6 separate regions of the Homo sapiens genome follow, and all the other regions are linked to region 1. The links are contacts of gene promoters, found by promoter capture Hi-C in blood cells and fetal thymus (Javierre and others, 2016). All regions are on one chromosome and are shown on one strand. The core of a region is centred on a gene start or on the middle of the fragment in contact, and the rest is flanking DNA. Distances in the headings are between cores, read along the strand shown. Region 1 holds the start of CPOX (coproporphyrinogen oxidase). Region 2 overlaps CMSS1 (cms1 ribosomal small subunit homolog). Region 3 has its middle 9.1 kb from the start of CMSS1. Region 4 overlaps COL8A1 (collagen type VIII alpha 1 chain). Region 5 overlaps COL8A1 (collagen type VIII alpha 1 chain). Region 6 overlaps COL8A1 (collagen type VIII alpha 1 chain).

Region 1 (3,233 bases), core at 385-2,884:
ATGACAATTCTTATTTCCCTTCCTCCACTTCTAACTTGGCCTCCTGGCAGGTTGCACTATGACCAAAAGCTAATTGTTTTTCTTCCCTAAAAGTCGCTTAGTCACTTCTCAATCCAAGCCTTTACTTTTCACAGATTCTCAGTGGTGAGGCTTCGGCAAGCACACCCACCTTGCTAACATCATGTCCCAGTGAGAGCTGCCAGGTACAGTTGTGTGTGGACAAGATGCCAATTGATCTGACTCAAAAGCCATTGAAGTTCCATCAGTGCATCCTGCCACAAAGAAAACACTTGTGGGAAAAGCTACCAGTGGCTTAAATTATTATCTACTACTAGAAATTAAAATCATCCCGGAGACTTATGGGACAAATTAGCCCATGACAATAGTTCTCACACTTTTACGTCCAGGAACCATGGAGCTGTGGTATGGTTACAGGGGAGACAAAGACCTGCCTGTCAAATCTATTAGCTTCTTTCCTCATTTCTTTAAAGGGTGGGGGAAGGGAGACAGAGTAGGAGGAAGTGTGGATATTTGCCTTGCCTAGTTTGTAGCAGTTGTTGTAAGTATTAAACGTGAGCAATATTTGGGAGCACCCTACAGTAGTAGAATAACTATTTTTTAAATTCTTATTTGTTAATCACCAAAACACACCAAGTCAGGAATTTTCTACTGGTTAACCAAAACAGTCACGTTGCTTTTCCTTTTTCTAAAATAATCAAGTAGGCACTATAGAAGCAAGGCCTGGGGAAACCTTTTTTTTTTTTTTTTTTTTCTGAGACAGAGTCTCACTCTGTCACCCAGGCTGGAGTGCAGTGGTGCGATCTCGGCTCACTACAACCTCTGCCTCCCGGGTTCAAGCGATTCTCCTGCCTCAGCCTCCCGAGTAGCTGAGCCTACAGGTGCACGCCGCCACGCCCGGCTATTTTTTTGTAGTTTTAGTAGAGACAGGGTTTCACCATGTTGGCTGGTCTCGAACTCCTGACCTCATGTGATCCAACCGCCTCGGCTTTCCAAAATGCTAGCATTACAGGCTTGAGCCACCGCGCCCGGCCCCAGCCTGGGGAAATCTTAAGGACAGAACTGTGATGTGGACTCGATCACAGAAAGTCTTCTCCTCGACTCTCTTCCGAGTCCATTACTAGCTTCTCCCACTCTCTTTAGAAAACCATCCTTCAGCAAAGAGTTTCCCAGCCTGCCCATCCCCTCTAAAAACTCTAGAGGACCAGGACCCAGGGCGAAGGGCGGGTCTATACAGATCCTGAGCCAGGCTCTGTATTCGCAAATCCTGTTTGAAAATGTAAGCGGGACTGGGATCTCTGCCACATTTCCGCCCCAGTCCGCCCTCAGCCTCCCAGCCCTACTCTATCTTCTCTCCTTGGCTGAGTAAACAGCCGACCCGAGGTTGTACGTGACAAGAAAGCCTCTTTTATCTCTCCCGTCCCTTCCACAGCACCGTCCCCGCCCCACTCTCTTCCCTTCGGACCAGCCCTTCTGGGCGCGTCGGATTCTTATCTCCCGCCCCGCGCAGGGACGCCGCAGGCGGCGATAGGATCCGGACTACAGCTCCCAGCGCGCCCCAGTTCCCGCCCCCGCCTCCGGAGCCCGACGCTGCAGCGGCTCTTCTCGAAAGGTTCTTTCCGCCTGTGCAGCTCGCCGGCTCAATACTCCGGGGGTCTGGGTGGGGGGCTCAAACGCAGGGCTCTGGGACGCAGGCACTGCTCCAGGTGATAGTGCGGGAACATGGCCTTGCAGCTGGGCAGGCTGAGCTCGGGCCCCTGCTGGCTCGTGGCGCGGGGCGGCTGCGGAGGGCCCCGCGCCTGGTCCCAGTGCGGCGGCGGAGGGCTCCGAGCCTGGTCCCAGCGCAGCGCAGCCGGACGCGTCTGCCGGCCCCCTGGCCCGGCTGGCACGGAGCAGAGCCGCGGGCTGGGGCACGGCTCGACGTCGAGAGGCGGCCCCTGGGTGGGGACAGGGCTGGCCGCGGCGCTGGCGGGGTTGGTGGGGCTGGCCACCGCCGCCTTCGGGCATGTGCAGCGGGCGGAGATGTTGCCTAAGACCTCGGGGACGCGGGCCACTTCGCTGGGGAGGCCGGAGGAGGAGGAGGATGAGCTGGCCCACCGCTGCAGCAGCTTCATGGCCCCGCCTGTGACCGACCTGGGCGAGCTGCGAAGGAGGCCGGGCGACATGAAGACCAAGATGGAGCTGCTGATTCTGGAGACCCAGGCCCAGGTGTGCCAGGCTCTGGCACAGGTAGACGGGGGCGCCAACTTTTCTGTGGACCGGTGGGAGAGGAAGGAAGGTAAGGAGGCCGGCCCCTGGCGGGAGTTGGAGACAGGGAAAAAGGGTCAGGTTCCAGGTTGCAGACAGAAAATATAATAGTTCACAATATGGGATGGGGTAGGTAGGGGGTACCCACAGAGAGGCCGCTTGGTTAGAGGCCGCTGATAAAAAGATGGACACGAAAGGGTCACTAGCCCTCTGCTTGCAGGTATGGACCCGGATCAGCTGTCACTGTAGTACTGCATTTCAAAATCTTTGCAATTCCGTAGCAGCATTTTTTTGTAGAACTCTTAAGGGGTATTTGCAGCTAACAAGCTTAGATGTCCAAAGTTCGTTACTGAACATAAATTTCAATAGATTATGGAACACATTTTCTCTCCTTCTCTGGGTGAATTTGCCCTTTTTCCTCTTTAGGAGATGGAAAGAACTCATCTCCTGTGCGCTAAGTGTCGGCTAAACTCCTCCAGCCAGGATGTCATTGTGTCAGAATCTTCCCACTTCTTTTTACTGTTACACAAGATATATTTGATTCGTTTCTCAGTAGCACTACCAAATGCACGCATCAGATTTCCTGCTAGGAAAATCTTCTCTTCCAATATCAAAATACTTGAGCATCAAAACCCAGTTCTCGTAGAGGCGTACATTCATGACCATGTTGTTGCCCATACAGTGAAACCCCACATCTTGAGTGGAAACTTGAAAGATTCCTGACTTTTCCTAGCTGGAAATACAACAGCAGCTTCTCACCGGCAGATTTTGAGCTGTGATACTGACACATCTATATTAAATGAAGTTCAGTCTAGTTTTCCATCTTATGTTTTCAAGCAAAGACCACTGAACCAGGACACAACCTCAAGTACTAGACCAGCTGTGTGATCCTCAGAAGTTACTTTTTTATGGCTGTTTTCCCATCTATGAAATATATATGTATTTCATCTCTTTTAATCCTCATACTA
Region 2 (3,233 bases), core at 404-2,903, 1.2 Mb before region 1:
CCTTCAGGCAGCTGGGCCTGAAAGTATCAGTGACCACCATTCCAAGCCACATTTTCTTCACCAACACGTATCAGTGTTGCTCAAAAGAAACGAGCTCCACCAATACTGTGTGTCATACCAATCTGTCTCGGCCTTTCACAGTATTGAACTATGCATACCCAGGTAGGCTAGAGTTCCAGGTGAAGAAAAAATAAAGCTTACATCTAAAGGAAGTTCAATTATGGCAGCACTTTTCCAAGTGTGGTAGGCCAACCACCTGAGTTGAAGAAATCACTCTGAGAGTTTATTAAAAATGTGAATTGCTGGACATATCCACAAACCAATGAATTACAATGCATAGGAGTAAGATTCAGAAATCTACAATTTAAAGACGATCCCAACATAGATTTTTGAACACTAAATTGGAGACCCAATCTAAATCTTGATAAAGTTACAGGACATCACAGAAATCCATCTTGGGAAGGCTATTATTAATGCTATAGTCACAATATTAGCAGACTTGATTAGTCTGTCACTGACTTCAACTGCAGCTTCTACTGCTCATGGCTTGGATAATATGGTTGTTCACAGAAATGTCCTGATCTCCAAGTTGTTTCCTTCCTTTTTCGTCTTTTAAAACAATTTAGTGTTCCTTTTTCTCATAGCATACTTACTATAAAATATGTGGAGAACACAGAAAATGTAAGAAAAATCAAAAGTACCTGTAAGTCCACTAATCAGGGTTAACAACCAATAGCATGGGTGCATTTTCTTTTAGTATTTTTCTCTTCACATGTAAATAATTAAAGCATGTACACAGTTTTAAATTCTACTTTTAACATATCTAAGTAAACGTTTTCCTGAAGCTTTGGCCTCATTAACAAAGCATGTTGTCATAATTATACTATAATTCATTTAACACATCCTATTCATTTAACTGTCCATTTTTCATCATTATAAACAATGCTAAAATCAAATATCCTTGACTGCCTCTCTACATCCTAGAAAAGATTCATAAGGCTCTTGATACATACTACCAAGCTGTTCCACTAATCATCATTGGAGCTGCCCATCTCACTCATACTGTGAAAACTTTTAAAAGTCTGAAGGCCCAAGTCAAATGCCATATTCTTCATGAAGCACTCTTAAAGACAATCTCATTCGAAATTAACCTTTCTCTGGCAATCTCATGGCTCTTTGAGATTAATTTGGGACACTACTCTTGTATATGTCCTACTACACCGTGATTGCCAAATATCTATTCATCTCTGTATCTACCACTATCTCTATCAAGAACTGTGCACACAGCACACATTCAACACACACCAGATTACTTTACTGACATTCTTTTCTTCAACCTGACGATCTTTGATCTGATACATCCCCAGAAACTGGTGCTTTCAAAGCCAAATCCTCCAAACTGACTCCATGTCCTAAACAATTTCTACTTCTCCACCAACTGTACCATTAATTACCTTTTGTTCTCTTGTTTAATTCAAGATCAAGGAGGTATGCAAGCAGAGAATCCCAGCACGGATCCCTAAACCGAAATCTACAGGCATCACCAAGATTTCCACTAAAGCCCCCACAGTGCCTATGGATAAGCCTATTTACCAAAATGGCTGTGGGAAGCTACACATCGTGAGAACTGTCACCTCCAACACCTTCCTCCACGTGGGAGGGAGAAGGTAACTCATACCAATGCACTGCCTGGATACATTCATCTACAGAAATATGTGGAAAGCTAAAATTACCACTATGAAAGGCCAAAGGACCATCTCTCCAGGAAATGGTGAAGCAGCTTTGTGGACCTGATGAAGATCATCCCCCAAAAAGCAGCACGTCTACAATTATTTTACTTCTATATGTGTATATGCACACACAAACACTCGCAGGCCTAGACCCACACCCAAATCTACCCATTTCCTCATCCGACATATAATCTAACCCAAAGATGAACTATCTAGAATCAGCCTGGGATAGGACTGAATTCACTAGAACAGTTCAAGAGTTTTCTGGTGAAAACAGAAGTAATTCTTCATTCTACAGAACTTTGCTGATTAATCATATTTTGCTAAGAAAAGGTGATAGCAAAAATTCCTAATCTGAGTCAAGAAAATCAGATTATTTCCATCAAGATGACAGGACAATTAAAATCACACTTTAAGGTCTAAAACTATGATTTCTTTATGACCAGGAGGGAAAAAGCAAAGTGATAATTCTTAAAGGAGGAAAAGCATAACAAAAGTGAATAACAGCCGAATATATCCTTTGTGCAGAATACCTGACAATCACTGGTGTAGTAAGCATACCTGACCACTGGCACTTAGTCTCAGTAACATTGAGATATTTTAGGGAGACATGAATCAATATTCCAGGTGCTTGAAAAAATACAGAATTTATCATCTCACAGGACATTGTTTATTCATATCTCTTCTCTGAATAAACACTATCGAAAATCAGTTGATTCAACAAAAGCTTGGGGTTAGGAGACTCAAATTCCAATCCTAGATTTTCATTCATGTGACAACGAGCTTTGCATTCATCAATCTAAGCCTTGAGTTTCCACATGTAAAACAGGAAAGTGAAATAATTCCTCAGGTCCCTTCCAGTTCTGATAACCTATGAATATGCCCAACTATTAATACAAAATGTTGAATTCAAACAGTCATCTATAAGGGTAGACACAGTCCCCTGGCAGAAAGCTAAAGCAATTCTTTACATCACACTGAAAACTCTCTCATTGAATTGAGAGAAAGGTGTGCCTGTAATTCAGTGTGGACAGAGTAATACAGGACATTTTAAGACAAGGCATGTTTGACACAAAAGGCAGTTCAAAAAACATTTCAAAAAGCTTCAATCGAGGGGGGAAAAAAATCAATGGAACGACACTAAACATTTTTTGTGATCCTTCACTAAAAACTGGAAGCATGACCCTGGAAGAAATCCTCATGGTTAAGGACTGCTTTAGCCAGCTGCCCTGGGTTGGAGCCAGCAGAGCAAGAGTAAAGGAACTCCCATTCCCCATACTTATCTAACTAAGTCCACCTCATTGCACTAATGCCACTGTACAAACACCCCCAGGCCCCTGCAATTTCAAGGAGGAGAAGGAGCTAGAGGCCTGGGCAGCATTGAAAGGGATGATGGGCAGCATTGAGAGGGATGATGGGCAGCATTGAGAGGGATGATAGGCAGCATTGAGAGGGATGATGGGCAGCAGTCCCAGCAGGCAAGTGGCAGAGGGCAGTAGGGGG
Region 3 (3,233 bases), core at 335-2,834, 1.2 Mb before region 1:
CTGGCAGGTATGTTCAGTTCAATCTCTGTGAGGAAGGAAGATCAAAAGCAATTTGCATTCACTTGGGCAGATTGAGTTCAGATTAACTGAAGGCTGTGGATATTTTGCTGTGAACATTCTCAGGGCTGGTTAACTCTCCTGTTCTCCATCATCATATAGTTCAAAAAGACTCTGTTTTTTTCTCAAAACAAAACATTGATCCATTGTATTGATGACATAGTGTTAATTGGATCTAGAGAGCAGGTAATGGCAAGTATTCTGGATGCCCTAGTAAAATACATGCATGCCAAAGGGTGAGAGAGAAATTACAAATGTTCAGGGAACTGCAATGTTGGTTATATTTTTAGGAGTTTGGTGATCTGAAGCATGCCTGGGAATCCCCTTCAATGTAAAGGAAAATTTTTTGTATCTCTCATCTTCCCCTAAGAGAAACAGTATTTTGTGCAGATAGCCTATGCCACATTTGGAAATAGTGTTCTAACTCATTTATCAGGTGACTCAAAAGGCTGCCATTTTTGAATAGGGTCAAGAGAAGGGAGGGCTCAGCAGCAAGTCTTGGCTACGACACAAGCTGCCCTGCCACTCAGGCCATAATGACATGGCAGATCCAAAGGTGCTGAGTGATAGATAATGATGCTGGATGGAATCTCTGGCAGATCCTAAAGAGAGAATCACGGTGCCTGCTCCAAGGATTTTCTAGTACAGCTTTGCCTTCTACAGCCAAACCATTTGAAAAGCAGCTGTGGGCAAAATGTAGAGTCCTAGCAGAAACAGGCACTTGACTATGGAATATCAAATGACTATATGACCAGAACTGCCCTTCAGGAATTGGCTCTTGTAAGGTTGGGTGCTCACAGTAACAATCCACTGAACAACAGAAATGGTATACATGCGAGCACATGTAAGCAAGTCCAAAAGTCACAAGATACATGAACAGATGGCTCAGAGCTCCTTGCCTTTTGTGTTCCTCAGCTCACACCTATGTCCTCTGGGTTATTCTCTATGACCAGCTGATAATGTTGGAAAATGCTCAAAGCTGGTTAAGCTTGGTATGTTGGTAGAACTGAAAATGGATTGCTACTACACTGCGGTTCCACTCAGGGAGGATCCTTAAAGGACAGAGGTGAACAGAATCCTGGTTGGCAGAGCTTCAGTACATGCATTCATCTCCTTTGAATGGAGAAAATAGTCTGAGGTCAGTGTAAATGTAGGGCCTTGAGCAACAGTGAATGGTATGGTTGATTGGGTGAAAGGTCTCTAAGATAGAATATGTGAAGTTCAATAATAAAGAGACCTGAGGAAGAGGCATGTGGAGGGACCTAAAGGAGTGAGCACAAAGTGTGTGTGTCTTTGTGGCACATGTGTGTGTCCACCAGAGAGTATCCACTACAAGTGAAGCATTGACCAACCAGGTGGACAATGCGGTAGATTGTATTTTTCAAAGATGGCCACCAATATCCTCCATCTCACCTACTCTTCTTGTAATCTGACCTTGACAGTTCTCCCATTGAGTGGTGGGATCTGTGTTCCCTTTCCTTGAACCTTGGCAGAACTTTATCATGTCAACCAAGAGAACATGGTAGAAATGATATTCGGTGACTTCTGAGGCTAGATCCCTAAAATTCTGTGCATTTCCACCTTGCTCCCTTGGGATGCTCACTTGGAACCCAGGCATCACTCTGAGAAAGCTCAAAGTAGCCCACACAGAGAAACCCTGTGGAAAGAACACGTGTAGCTATTCTGGTCCACAGCTCAGCTAAGGTCCCTGCTGACAGCATCCACAGCCAGACCTATAAATAAAGATACCCCCAGGTGATTCCAGTCACCAGCTGTTGATTGATCCCAAGCTGTGGTCCAAGACATCATGGAGCAGAGGCTAGCCATTCCCACTATGACCTTTCTGAATGTCTGACATAACAGAATTCCTGTAAGAAGAAAATGACTGAAACCTGCTTCTTGAACTGCTGTTTCTATCATGGCCACGAGAGGGAGACCTTGTTCCTTAGGGACCTGCAAGCTGCCAAAACCGTATTCCTTTGTTGGTCCCTGCCTAGATTGGCAGTGGATTTTCCTTCCTTCTCCTGACAGGGCCTGCTGAGGTCAGGTGGCTGAATTAAAGCTTCCTTTTTCTAATCTTATGTCTTCAGTATGTATGGACTCTGTAAAGATCCTCTCATTTAGGGGAAGAAAAACCTGATTGTTAACTTTGCTTTTGTAATAAGAGAATTAGCATGCAGATTGCATATTTGGGCCTGAGGAAAAGGAAATCCAGTCATTTGGGTTTGTACTTTGAAGTTAATGGGTGAAGGCAGAGCATCTGCGTCCAGCAGCCAGGTCTTAAGGTCTCTAGAAGGTAACATCCACTGAAGTAGAGGAGGCACAGAAAGTGGCAGTTTCCATAATGGTCTGCAGAAGTGTTCCTGGGAGAGCTGGGATTTGTGGTTTTTGGACCACCAAAATGTTGCTGCTTAGGCCCCTGATGCATTATTGGTGAGAAGTGCAGTGAACTTGGAGGTAAGGGAGGCTGCTGGAAGTCATTTCCAATTGCCTCCTATGGTTTATTCCTATTGATAAATAGTTTACCCTTTAGTTTTACTTTTTAACATCATTTTTTGAAATTGTAAAATATACATAATATAAAATTTATTATCTTAACCATTTTTAAGTATATTAAGTACAGTTTAGTTCAGTGGCATTACGTACATTCACATTGTTGTGCAACCATCACCACCATTCATCCTCAGAACTCTTTTTATCTTGCAAAACTGAAACTCTGTGCCCATTATACAAAAACCCCCCTCACTCGAGCCACTGGCAACCACCATTCTGCTTGCTACCTCTATGAATTTGACTACTCTAGGTACTGCATATAAGTACAGTCATACAATATTTGTTATTTTGTGACTGGCATAATGTCCTCAAGGTTCATCCATGTTATAGCATGTGTCAAAATATTCTTCCTTTTTAAGGCTGAATAATAGTCCATTGCATTATAGGCCACATTTTGTTTATTCATTCATCCATTAGTGGCCTCTTGGGTTAATTCCACCTTTTAGATATTGTGAATAATGCTGCTATGAACATGAATATACACATGTATGTTTGAGTTCATGCTTTCAATTCTTTTGGGTATATACCAGAAGTGGAAATGCTTGATCATATGGTAACTCTATTTTTAATTTTTTGAGAAACCACCATACTGTTTTTCACAGTGGTCCAGTTTCACATTCCCC
Region 4 (3,233 bases), core at 438-2,937, 1.2 Mb before region 1:
ACAGATGTGTAAACTGTTATTGAGTAGCAAAGGATATCTAGTAAAAAGTAAATTTTCCTCCTACTTCTGTTCTCCAGTATCTAAAATCCCTTATGTTTGAAGCAACAATTTTTCCTCATATTTTTCAGATAGTCTGTGGATATGCACATATCATATACATCCCTTTCAAACATAAATTGCAGTATACTATACACACTTCTATTTTTTGCTTTTTTCACTCAAAGATCAGTACTTATTCCTTGTCTAGTTATGTGCATCTAAACAAATTTCTTTAAGTTCTTCATTTATTAAAATATGACTTGGATGTTCCCTTAAGTCTTTTCTAGCTCTAACATTCAATGTCTGTAAGACAGTTACTAGAGATCTGAAAGTGTTAATCCATACCAGAAATGTGTGGTAATATCTGGTAATGTATAAGCTGGTACTTAATTCTACTTTTGGGGATGAATGAATTTAATTATGGAACCCCAGACTTGTGGTGAAGTCTTTAATAATAAGCTAGCATGTTTGGCCCTTCAGCCTTCCATCAATTCAGTGGATATGTTGGATTATACTTCATAATCTTTAAACCAGGACAATCTAATGAAATACTGGAAAACTGGAAGGAGATGAAATGCCTGGAAGAATACCAGTTGAATTATTTCCTCTCATAGGCTCAGCATATCTGTCCTGTAAACCAGCTCTTTAGGTCTGCCTTCTGCCATTTCTCTGGCTCTTTATCTAAATAAACTTTGTTCAGTTTTAACGTGAATATTTATATAAGGGCCCTGGTTAGAATTTACTGCTTTACTTATTCCTACTAATTTTTCTCCTGTCCCTGAGGATATTTTTGGTGGTCAAAGTGGTATGGGGGTTCTCCCAAATCACTCAAAAGAACATCAAATTTGGGTAACTTTATACAAACACCTGGCAAGAAAGAAGGAGCCTTGGAATTTTTGCTGGGAAGAAATTGTGATAGTGGGTTTTCATGCCTCTCTTTCTGAGAATGTGGGACACAATAATATTGTGAGTTCTCCTTAATATTTTCTTTGATTTCTATTTGTTTGACAGCTGGTGTGTGTGTGTGTGGGTGTGGGTGTGTGTGTGTGTGTGTATTTGTGTTCTTGAACATAAGCATATCTAATGTGTGTGAACATTGAATCTTTGCCAGCCAGGCTGGCTTAGTGATGGGTGTCATGTCATATGACAAAAGCACTGTCAAAGAAGTCAAAAGACTTTTATTTAAGTTTTGGCTCTGCCATTCTTCATGCCTATGACCTTGGACAAGTCCTTTATCTTCACTAAGCCTCAGTTTTCTTACCTGTAAAATAGCAATTATAATCTCTGCCCATCCCTCAGAGCTGTTCAGGGGTACAAATGATAATATGAATTCTTCATAAGCCAAAAAGGACTATTCAGATTTAAGTTATTATTAATGGAGTGTGACCAGAAAGACAAATCAAAACCAACTAAAATGTCAAAGATTTTCAAAGAAAGATACTAGCAAAGTAAATGTGAGGTTAACTGCAATAATGATAACCTAACATGAATAAAACAGTAATGGCCATTAAAATGCACTTGTTAAAAATGATTTAGAAAAAGAACAGCTGAACCAAGGCAGTCATTCATTCATGTGTCAAGAATAACCAATCCTAGATACTTTGAACAGCCCTAAATGGCTTCCTATATTTGAGCAGGGCTGCAGAGAATTTCAGATTCCTCATATGACCTGTAATGTACATAACAGAGTAATGTGATACATATATTAACAGAATAATGTGATAGATATTTTAAATGCTCATCAGCATTCTATTTGTACGTTTATCCTCATTGGCTTACTATACAGAAGAATGTTTAAATATTTAATCTGTTGGTCCTTGCCTTGAATCCAACTTTCCCTTTCACATAGGCTAACACAGCATGTCTTTGTGTATGTATGTGTGTCTCTGTTGTGTGTGGTGTGTATAAGCCTCTCTAATCAGTTCCTGGGCTGGTCCTCTGTGCCTCCTACTTGTACAAGATTTGTAGTCTCTCAAGACCCTCAGATTTGCCACCCTAAAGCAAGGGAAAGTCAGGCAGAATCCTCTTCCAGTGTTCACCAGAATTGCCTTCCTGGTTTTTCCATGCCTCTCAAAGAAAATTCTCTCTTGATTGCATTTCTCAGGGCAATTCATTCATTAGATATACCTATTGAACACCTATTGAACACTCAGAACAGGAAATGTTCTGAGTATTGGAGATACAGTGGTGAATTAGAGAGTGGAGGTATTATCTTATTGAACTCACAGTCTAGTGTGGAGAGACAGGTGATAAATGTTAAAAATACATTTTATAATTTGAGATTTGAGTGCTTTGAAAAAGCAATGCAGGTGTCTTAGTCATTAGGGCTGCTGTAGCAAAATACCATAGGTTGAGTGGTTTATAAAGAACAGCAATTTCTCAGTGTTCATGAGGCTGGGAAGTTCAAGATCAAGGTGCCAGCAGATTGGTTGTCTAGTGAAGACCCACTTTCTGGTTCATAGATGACACCATTTTGCTGTATCCTTACATGATAAAAGGGGCAAGGGAGCTCTCTGGAGTCTCTTTTATATGAGCACTAATTCTGTTCATGAGGACTTTGCACTCATGATCTAATTATCTCCCATAGGCCCCACCTCCTAATACCATCACTTTCGGAGGGGGGTGTCATATTTTAACATATGAATTTGGGGACATAAACATTCAATGTATAGCAGCAGGATAAAGGGTTCAATAATGACAGAGTGGAAGAGCTCCGATGTTTTGGAAAGAACGGTAGGGAATGACATCTGAGGAAGTAAATTTTGGATAGAGATGTGAAGGTTGAGAGATGTATCTTTCTTAAGACAACGTATGGGGAAAAAAGGAAAGAGTCCTGTTTACTACAATGTTAGTTGAAGGTACCTTTCACTAATATAGACTCATTTCAAAAGTATGTTCTTCATCCATGCCTGACCTCATTTTGAATTCTTTATTTACGATATTCTTTTTTCCTGGAAGATAATTATTTTCCTTTTATTTCTCTGTAGATTTCAGTCCTACCATATAGTTTTCTCTGGTTGTCATAACAAAGTATCTCAGACTGGGTGGCTCAATAGAAATTAATTTTCTCACAGTTCTAGAGACATTGAAGTTCAAGATCAAGATATTGGCAGAGTTGGATTCTGCTGGAGCCTCTCGCCTTGGCTTGTAGATGGCAGTCACCTCCCTGCGTCTTCACACAGTCTTTCTTCCAT
Region 5 (3,233 bases), core at 392-2,891, 1.2 Mb before region 1:
GCAAGGTGGAAAGAGCCTATGGGCTGCAGGGTCCTAGCCACCTGGATTTGGATCCTGGCTTTGTCACTGATCAGCTGTGTAACCTTAGGGAATACACAGCCATATCTTAGCATGAAAAATGGGAATAATAATCCCTATGGGGATCGTATTTGGTAACAAATGGTGATGCCTGACAATTAGCAGAAACTCAATAAAGGGTAGCTTGACTAATATACAGTATATAGCCTTTGTATTCTTGCCATTACTGTGGTTCCAGGATCCAATAGGATATTAATATTCTTTTTACCAACCAGCTCTGGTACCTTCGGCATATCTATGAACAAAATTGTCCTTAAAAGAAGTAATATCTCCTGGGTTTGTTGAGCTAACATTTGATATATAAATACTATATATTAGCCTAAGAAAGAAAATACCTGTGGTCACAGCCACTTTATGTTGCATTGAATGGTATTTAGTACACTTTTCTGAAATTGGAATGTAATTTTAGTAATTTTGATAAGGCATCAGAAGATAAATCTGTTGTGTTAGAGAAGAGAATGGTATTAAAAACATCTAGTAACCACAAAATGTTAACATTCTTAGGTTGGGTGCCAAGAACATAGATTTGACCAAAAGGAGTTAAAGGAGCAATTGAGCATTACTCTGGTTACAGGGATCCCTGACTTATGTGAATGATATTGAGAAAATACCACATCCTAATGATGTAAACTAGAACTAGATGTAGAATAAGAAGTGTTCCAAGCTTTACATTGAAGAAGGCCTGGGGACGAATTTGGGAGGGTTTGTACAGCAAATGTTAACATCACAAAAGAAGGAATTTGGCCTCCAAAAAGGATTAGACTGGTGCATATACTTTGAAACATCTTGGATACAGCAGTCCTGCTATAATTCCCTCTGGCTTCATTGTAGAGTGTAAACAAAACACGACATTATTGTGGATTCTCATTGTATTCCCTGTTCTACTAGATACCCTTTGCTGAATGGATGGGATGTTGGCTGGGGATTGTGAAGTTCATTCTCTTGCTGTTGGTTGGTGTGAGTTTGAGCAGTTTACCAGACTGGAGCTAAGATTGAAGTCTCTGCTTCCTGTTATTCTGAGAAGGGTGAAGCTTCCTTTAAGACAGAGGGGAATAGTGAATCAGCTGATAATGTTGATAGCCAAGACCATGTCTCTGTGAGCCATTTCATAATGTAACTTGTTACATTGCCTACACTTGGTGGCCAATGCAGCATGTATTATATTCTGTTATTCCTTGTTGTATCATCTTTGTTATTTTTTTCTGTTAACTATTATTATTAATAACTGTTCTCTTAATAACCATAAAGAGAAAGTATGGTTAACAACTTCATCAATCCCTTAAAAAATGCAACTATTTTATGTGTTGAATGGTACCATATTTATACTTGAATTATGGGATGGTTTGACATGACAGCTAACATTTATGGAGAACTTACTATTGGCCAGACACTGTTAAAAGCACTTTACATTGATTAATTGATTTAAGCACCTATATTGGTTAACTTATTTAATTCTTAGAAAAATCTGCCTGACTGCAGAGGTTGCAGATGAACCAAGATCTCGCCACTGCACTCCGGCCTGGGCGACAGAGGGAGACTCCATCTCAAAAAAAAAAAAAAAAGAAAAAAAAGAAAAAAAAGAAAAATCTGCCTGACTGAAAGCTACTACCATAATTATTCTTACTTATCTATGTGGCATTCAAGGCACAGAGGTTTTAAATAGCATGTCAAAAATCCTACAGTCAGTAAGTAACAGGACTGGAATTTGAGCTCAGGGAATCTACCTCCAGGTTCTAAGCACTTAACTACTAACAACATATTACTTGTTTGAATGGGAACTTTGAATATTGAATAGATCGTGGTGTACACGCACACACATATATGTACAGGGGCACAAAAATACTTTTCATATTCATGTAACTCATAATTGAATTTGAAATTTATACTAATGTTGTTCTGCTCTTTATATTCATTGAGCTGCCAGATTAAAACTCAGAGTTATTGAAGAATACAGCAGGACTTTATTTATTAAGAAATCTCTGGATACCTCTTACATGCAAAGAACTCTACTGTAAATTGGAAACAAAAATAAGGCACAATCTCTAATGTTTTGTGAACCTTAAGAAAATAAGAAAATTCTTATGCACAAAGCTTCTATATAAAAAGTTCAGTTAGGTGTTAAGAGAATTTGGGCGTGATATGGTTTTCCAGGCCTCTGGTGGGTGATAGTCACTGGGCCTGAGGAGGAGGAGGCTGTTCTTACCACAGAGAAAGCAAGAAATCCTGGGTCAGCCAACGAAACAGTTCTTCTAGGTCAAGCCTCCAACTACTGGAGTCAAATGCATGGTTACTTGGGGAAGCCTGGCGGAGTAGATGGTGACCAATTGGCTGAGCTGGCTAGTCCTTGGGTGGTAGATCACCCCAGGTGAAAGCAAGAAATCTCAGGTCAGCCAAAGAGACAGTTTTTCTAGGTGAGGCCTCCAACTACTGGGGTCAAATGCATGGTTACTTGGGGAATCACGGCAGAGTAGATGGTGACCAATTGGCTGAGCTGGCTAGTCCTTGGGTGGTAGACCACCTCAGGAAGCAGAACATGGTACTGGGTGCATGGATTGTAGAGCCACACTGCCTGGGTTAAAACCCCAGCTCTGAACACTATTACCTACATGACTTTAGGGAAAGTTTGTTTTTTTTTTCCAAAAATGTTTTTGTGCCTCATTTTCCTTTTCCAGAAAATGAGGATAATAATAATAATACCGACCTCATAGGACTTTAATGCAGATTAAATAAGTATATGCATGTAAAGTGTTTAGAATGATGTCCGGCATGAAGTAAGTGCGATGTAGGTATTAACTGTTATTATTATTGTTATCATTACTGGTAGAGGCAGGAGTGGATTCAGAGGTTTAGACAGGCAGGAGGTGCACAGCCTATCTTACTTAGAACAAATGTAAACCCAAGGAACCCATCCTTCCCTCTCATCTCCCAGAGTACATTTCTCTGACTTCTGCTTATTTTGTCTTCTAAAGAAATTTATGACAATGAAATATGAGCTTGTATTCTCTCCTCTTAATTAAAGTTATTTCTATGTTAGATAATAATTCATTGTTATGATGTCTCCTTTGGAATATATAACAGGCTCTGTTTCTTCATTGGCTTTGGACCATTGGAAACTGGGGCAGGAAATCAGATGACTGCACTTGCAATTCAAAGAG
Region 6 (3,233 bases), core at 734-3,233, 1.2 Mb before region 1:
CATTTTTCCTGAGGACTTTCAGTTAGATTGTTCCATAACAGAAATAAGCTATTTATTTAGGGATTGTATGTAAAATATCTTAATGACTTTGTAGGTAGAATAAAACATACTGTACAACAAAGTTATATATAATTATTATTTTACATAGTATATATCAGCCTAACAGTTTAATGTCTCATTCATTCATAATGTTTAATGGGAACATATTTGAAAATAAAGAGTGCTATAGAGCCATACTAATTTATAGTTCTTGCCATAGCACTTTTACTTCGAAGTCTCTCAAGTATTCAACGGTATAAAATGGACCCTTTTAATGAATGAGCAATTTGGGGCATCAACTAATGAAGCCAGATTTTTTCCTGCATGTGGAAGATGTGTGAGAATGCCCAAATCATTGCTGCTAATCTACCTTGCCCTCTATTTGACAGCATCTTAGGGAATTTGTATCAGCTACATCAAGCCAGGTACATAAACAAGTCCAGTACTGTGAAATTAGTATGTGGGCTCTGAACAGTGGAATCCTCTGGTCAGTGCTGTCGCATAGGGACAATGTGAGTCAAATATCAACTTTATGTTTTTTATTATCATATTAATAAGTAAAAAGAAACAGGTGAAATTAATTTTATTAAACCATATTTGGTAATATTTATTAATATATTTATACTTATTACTTTTATTTAACTCAAAATATTAAAAATATCATTTCAACATGCAATCAATATATAAAGTATTGATGAGACATTTTACATTCTGTTTTTCATTCCAAGTCTTAGAAATTTGGTGTATATTTCACACTCACAGCACATCTCAATTGGGACTAGCCACATTTCATATGCTCAGTACCAGAATGTGGTTAGTGGCTATCATATTGAACAGTGCAGCTATAGTCATTCCTGCTTTGCCACCATTGGAGGTGCCAGAGGGTGGCAATGTGGTGTAGAGGAAAGACAAAGACCAGCCGGGAATCTTAGACTATGACTGTTCCTGACTTGAAAAAGTGATTTAGTTTCACTGGGTCTCAAATTCCTCCTCTTTATAATGGGGATCGTTAATAACTGCCATACTCTTTTCAGGAAGCTGCGGGGAAGATTAAATAAGATATTGTATGTGAAAGTGCTCTGTTAGATCATAAAACACCATACACATGTAAAGCATTATTAGCTCTTTTGTTGTAGATTTACTCTCATGACTTGCCCAAGGCCACATTCCAAGTTGGTAGGAGAATGAAGGATAGAATCTGGGGCTTCTGACTTCCAGCCATCTGCTTCAGCTAAAGGCTATTCATACCAAGCTAGTTTTAAAATTTCTTTTTATTTTTAAAAGTCTTTTTATTTTAAAAAATTGAGGAAGGAAGACAGTGGCAGTAACAAGTAAATTCCATATTGAACAGTAAGGGTCTTCTTGGCCACAGTCATAATGTTCTGCAGTAAAATTATATGTACAGAATATTTATATACTTATATACTCAGAATTACAGTCATCAAAAATTGGAGTTTATTGCTGTCGTATAATATAAAATCCCGTGTTCTTCAAAGTTTCAAACAACTTTTAAAATGAACTGTGGTTTCCCCACTCTATTTATTTCCAAAGTGTAGTACAACCACAAGAAAGCCCTTCCGTAGTGGGCTTGATTAATAAAACAGATATGGATCAATTCAACAGGTTTTCCGTGGATATTTTTGGTTACAGATGTAGCTCATTAATTCCCATGTGTGGGACACCACCTCTCTAGTGTAAATCCAAGAGACACATTAATAGCTGAACAAAAAATGGGAATAATTCAGTTCAACCCATATTATTTAGTACATACTATGTGTAAGGCACATTAGGTATCTTAATGAGCAAAAAGCTTGTTTTTATGATGATTGTTGCTTAGAGGTATATGTTATTTAACTTGAGGAAAATATATAATCTGTCTACCAAAATGTCTATGTTCTATCATTCAGGAATCTATATTTTTGGAAGGTAAAAGGATCAGAAAGAAAACTCTAGATTATTAAAAATAATTAAAAAAGTTACATTCTGTGCTTTTGGAGGGCATGCAAAAGATTAGTTATCATGATCTATTTCCATTTTCTTAATTGTATGCCTATCATGGTGTTCATATTTAAGCTTTTTTGGTCATTATCTACATTTGTTTCAAATACATTTCTTCATAGAACTTAATAAACTACATAAAACATTAAGAGTTTTATACTATGTCAAGTTAAACCAAGTCCATTTTCACTAAGAAAAAGGTGTACATTCAAAAAATTCTTTATTATTTTTTCAATCAAAATTCATTTAAAAATACTTTCAGCTGGTTATTTTCACTGACAAACTTATCATTTGTAAGCTTCAGGCCTGCCTGAATTGATGACCATGTTGAATAAATGTGATTTTTATTTTTACTGCTGAATCATTGCTGATGACCATTGAATGAAATAGTTTATTGAATGGCCTTTAAGTTTTATTGCTTTTGCACCCTAGTTTAAAAACAAAGAGCTTAATTTCTTAAAAGTTCAATAAAATGTATTTTTGATATTTCCACCAGAACTTTACAAGCAATTTCTCTCCTCTGCCCTTTAATAACCACCTTCTGCATTTTTATGATTTAGTTTAACATTATTATTATACTTTTTTTACTGGGAGAGCTCATCAATGCCCTTGGCAGTAAGATTTTGTTACAAGAAATCCAGAAGCCGAGCCTATCACTGGTTGCAACAATTACAAAGTTTCTCTGGGTTGAGTTCAGAGGCTTACTCTGACATTATGGCTGTTACCCACATCATGCCTCTTTCCTCAGTTTTTCTAATATCCACGAGTCCTATAATCTGCTGCTTCAATGAGCATGTATTTTTTTATTCCCTGGGTTTGCATTATAAATATTTCATTTGGAGAACATCTGGCTTTGATGGAATCCAGCCAAAATAATTAGTGGTACCTATATTAAAAATGTAATGCCTTAGTAAAATCATTAATGTATTTGCATTTCTCCAGGAACTCTAAATGGATGCATTCTAGACAGGATGCAGTCAATGAGGGATTAATGATAGGGCTAAATGCTGTGCTTTTCCTTTCGTTCAGGTGTCCACCCTGTCCCAAAAAGAACAAGAAAAATCTGGGGAATCTTAGCAATTCATTCTTTTAATTATGAAATAAAATTAAATAGACTATAAAAACCATTGTACTATTATATATCAGGAAATATTGAGTCGTGTGTCCAAAAGTCACACTTAAGACCAGGCAATAGT

Evidence for each region. The method cuts DNA at HindIII sites, captures the fragments that hold promoters and counts their contacts. A CHiCAGO score of 5 or more calls a contact.
Region 2: a fragment that was not itself captured here is called in contact with the fragment with the promoter of CPOX in region 1 in 1 of 17 cell types (total CD8 T cells); the score reaches 5.8 in total CD8 T cells.
Region 3: a fragment that was not itself captured here is called in contact with the fragment with the promoter of CPOX in region 1 in 11 of 17 cell types (naive CD4 T cells, naive B cells, naive CD8 T cells and 8 more); the score reaches 10.0 in naive CD4 T cells.
Region 4: a contact is called between a fragment that was not itself captured here and the fragment with the promoter of CPOX in region 1, in 1 of 17 cell types (naive CD4 T cells). The highest score is 5.1, in naive CD4 T cells.
Region 5: a contact is called between a fragment that was not itself captured here and the fragment with the promoter of CPOX in region 1, in 1 of 17 cell types (naive B cells). The highest score is 5.2, in naive B cells.
Region 6: a fragment that was not itself captured here is called in contact with the fragment with the promoter of CPOX in region 1 in 2 of 17 cell types (naive B cells and total B cells); the score reaches 10.2 in naive B cells.

What each region holds. Positions count from the first base shown.
Region 1 is chr3:98,592,012-98,595,244 of GRCh38, reverse strand. It overlaps CPOX (coproporphyrinogen oxidase), which reads left to right and starts at 1,634. Exons shown (of 7, transcript NM_000097.7): 1 at 1,634-2,296. The coding sequence starts at 1,741. RefSeq lists an enhancer at 1,096-1,145 and a silencer at 1,646-2,095. The HindIII fragment of the contact is 5,536 bases long and covers 1-2,594 here.
Region 2 is chr3:99,828,852-99,832,084 of GRCh38, reverse strand. All of the region lies in intron 1 of CMSS1 (cms1 ribosomal small subunit homolog), which reads right to left. FILIP1L (filamin A interacting protein 1 like) reads left to right here. Exons shown (of 6, transcript NM_001387850.1): 6 at 1,480-3,233. The coding sequence ends at 1,671. The region is part of intron 1 of LOC105374010 (a long non-coding RNA gene); the gene reads right to left. Among named protein-coding and RNA genes, the nearest start is that of HP09053, 6.6 kb to the right of the region's middle. The HindIII fragment of the contact is 1,612 bases long and covers 848-2,459 here.
Region 3 is chr3:99,807,129-99,810,361 of GRCh38, reverse strand. No RefSeq gene overlaps it. Among named protein-coding and RNA genes, the nearest start is that of CMSS1, 9.1 kb to the left of the region's middle. The HindIII fragment of the contact is 1,074 bases long and covers 1,048-2,121 here.
Region 4 is chr3:99,785,718-99,788,950 of GRCh38, reverse strand. All of the region lies in intron 2 of COL8A1 (collagen type VIII alpha 1 chain), which reads right to left. Among named protein-coding and RNA genes, the nearest start is that of CMSS1, 31 kb to the left of the region's middle. The HindIII fragment of the contact is 3,668 bases long and covers 1-3,233 here.
Region 5 is chr3:99,763,109-99,766,341 of GRCh38, reverse strand. All of the region lies in intron 2 of COL8A1 (collagen type VIII alpha 1 chain), which reads right to left. Among named protein-coding and RNA genes, the nearest start is that of CMSS1, 53 kb to the left of the region's middle. The HindIII fragment of the contact is 1,060 bases long and covers 1,112-2,171 here.
Region 6 is chr3:99,745,915-99,749,147 of GRCh38, reverse strand. All of the region lies in intron 2 of COL8A1 (collagen type VIII alpha 1 chain), which reads right to left. Among named protein-coding and RNA genes, the nearest start is that of CMSS1, 70 kb to the left of the region's middle. The HindIII fragment of the contact is 263 bases long and covers 1,852-2,114 here.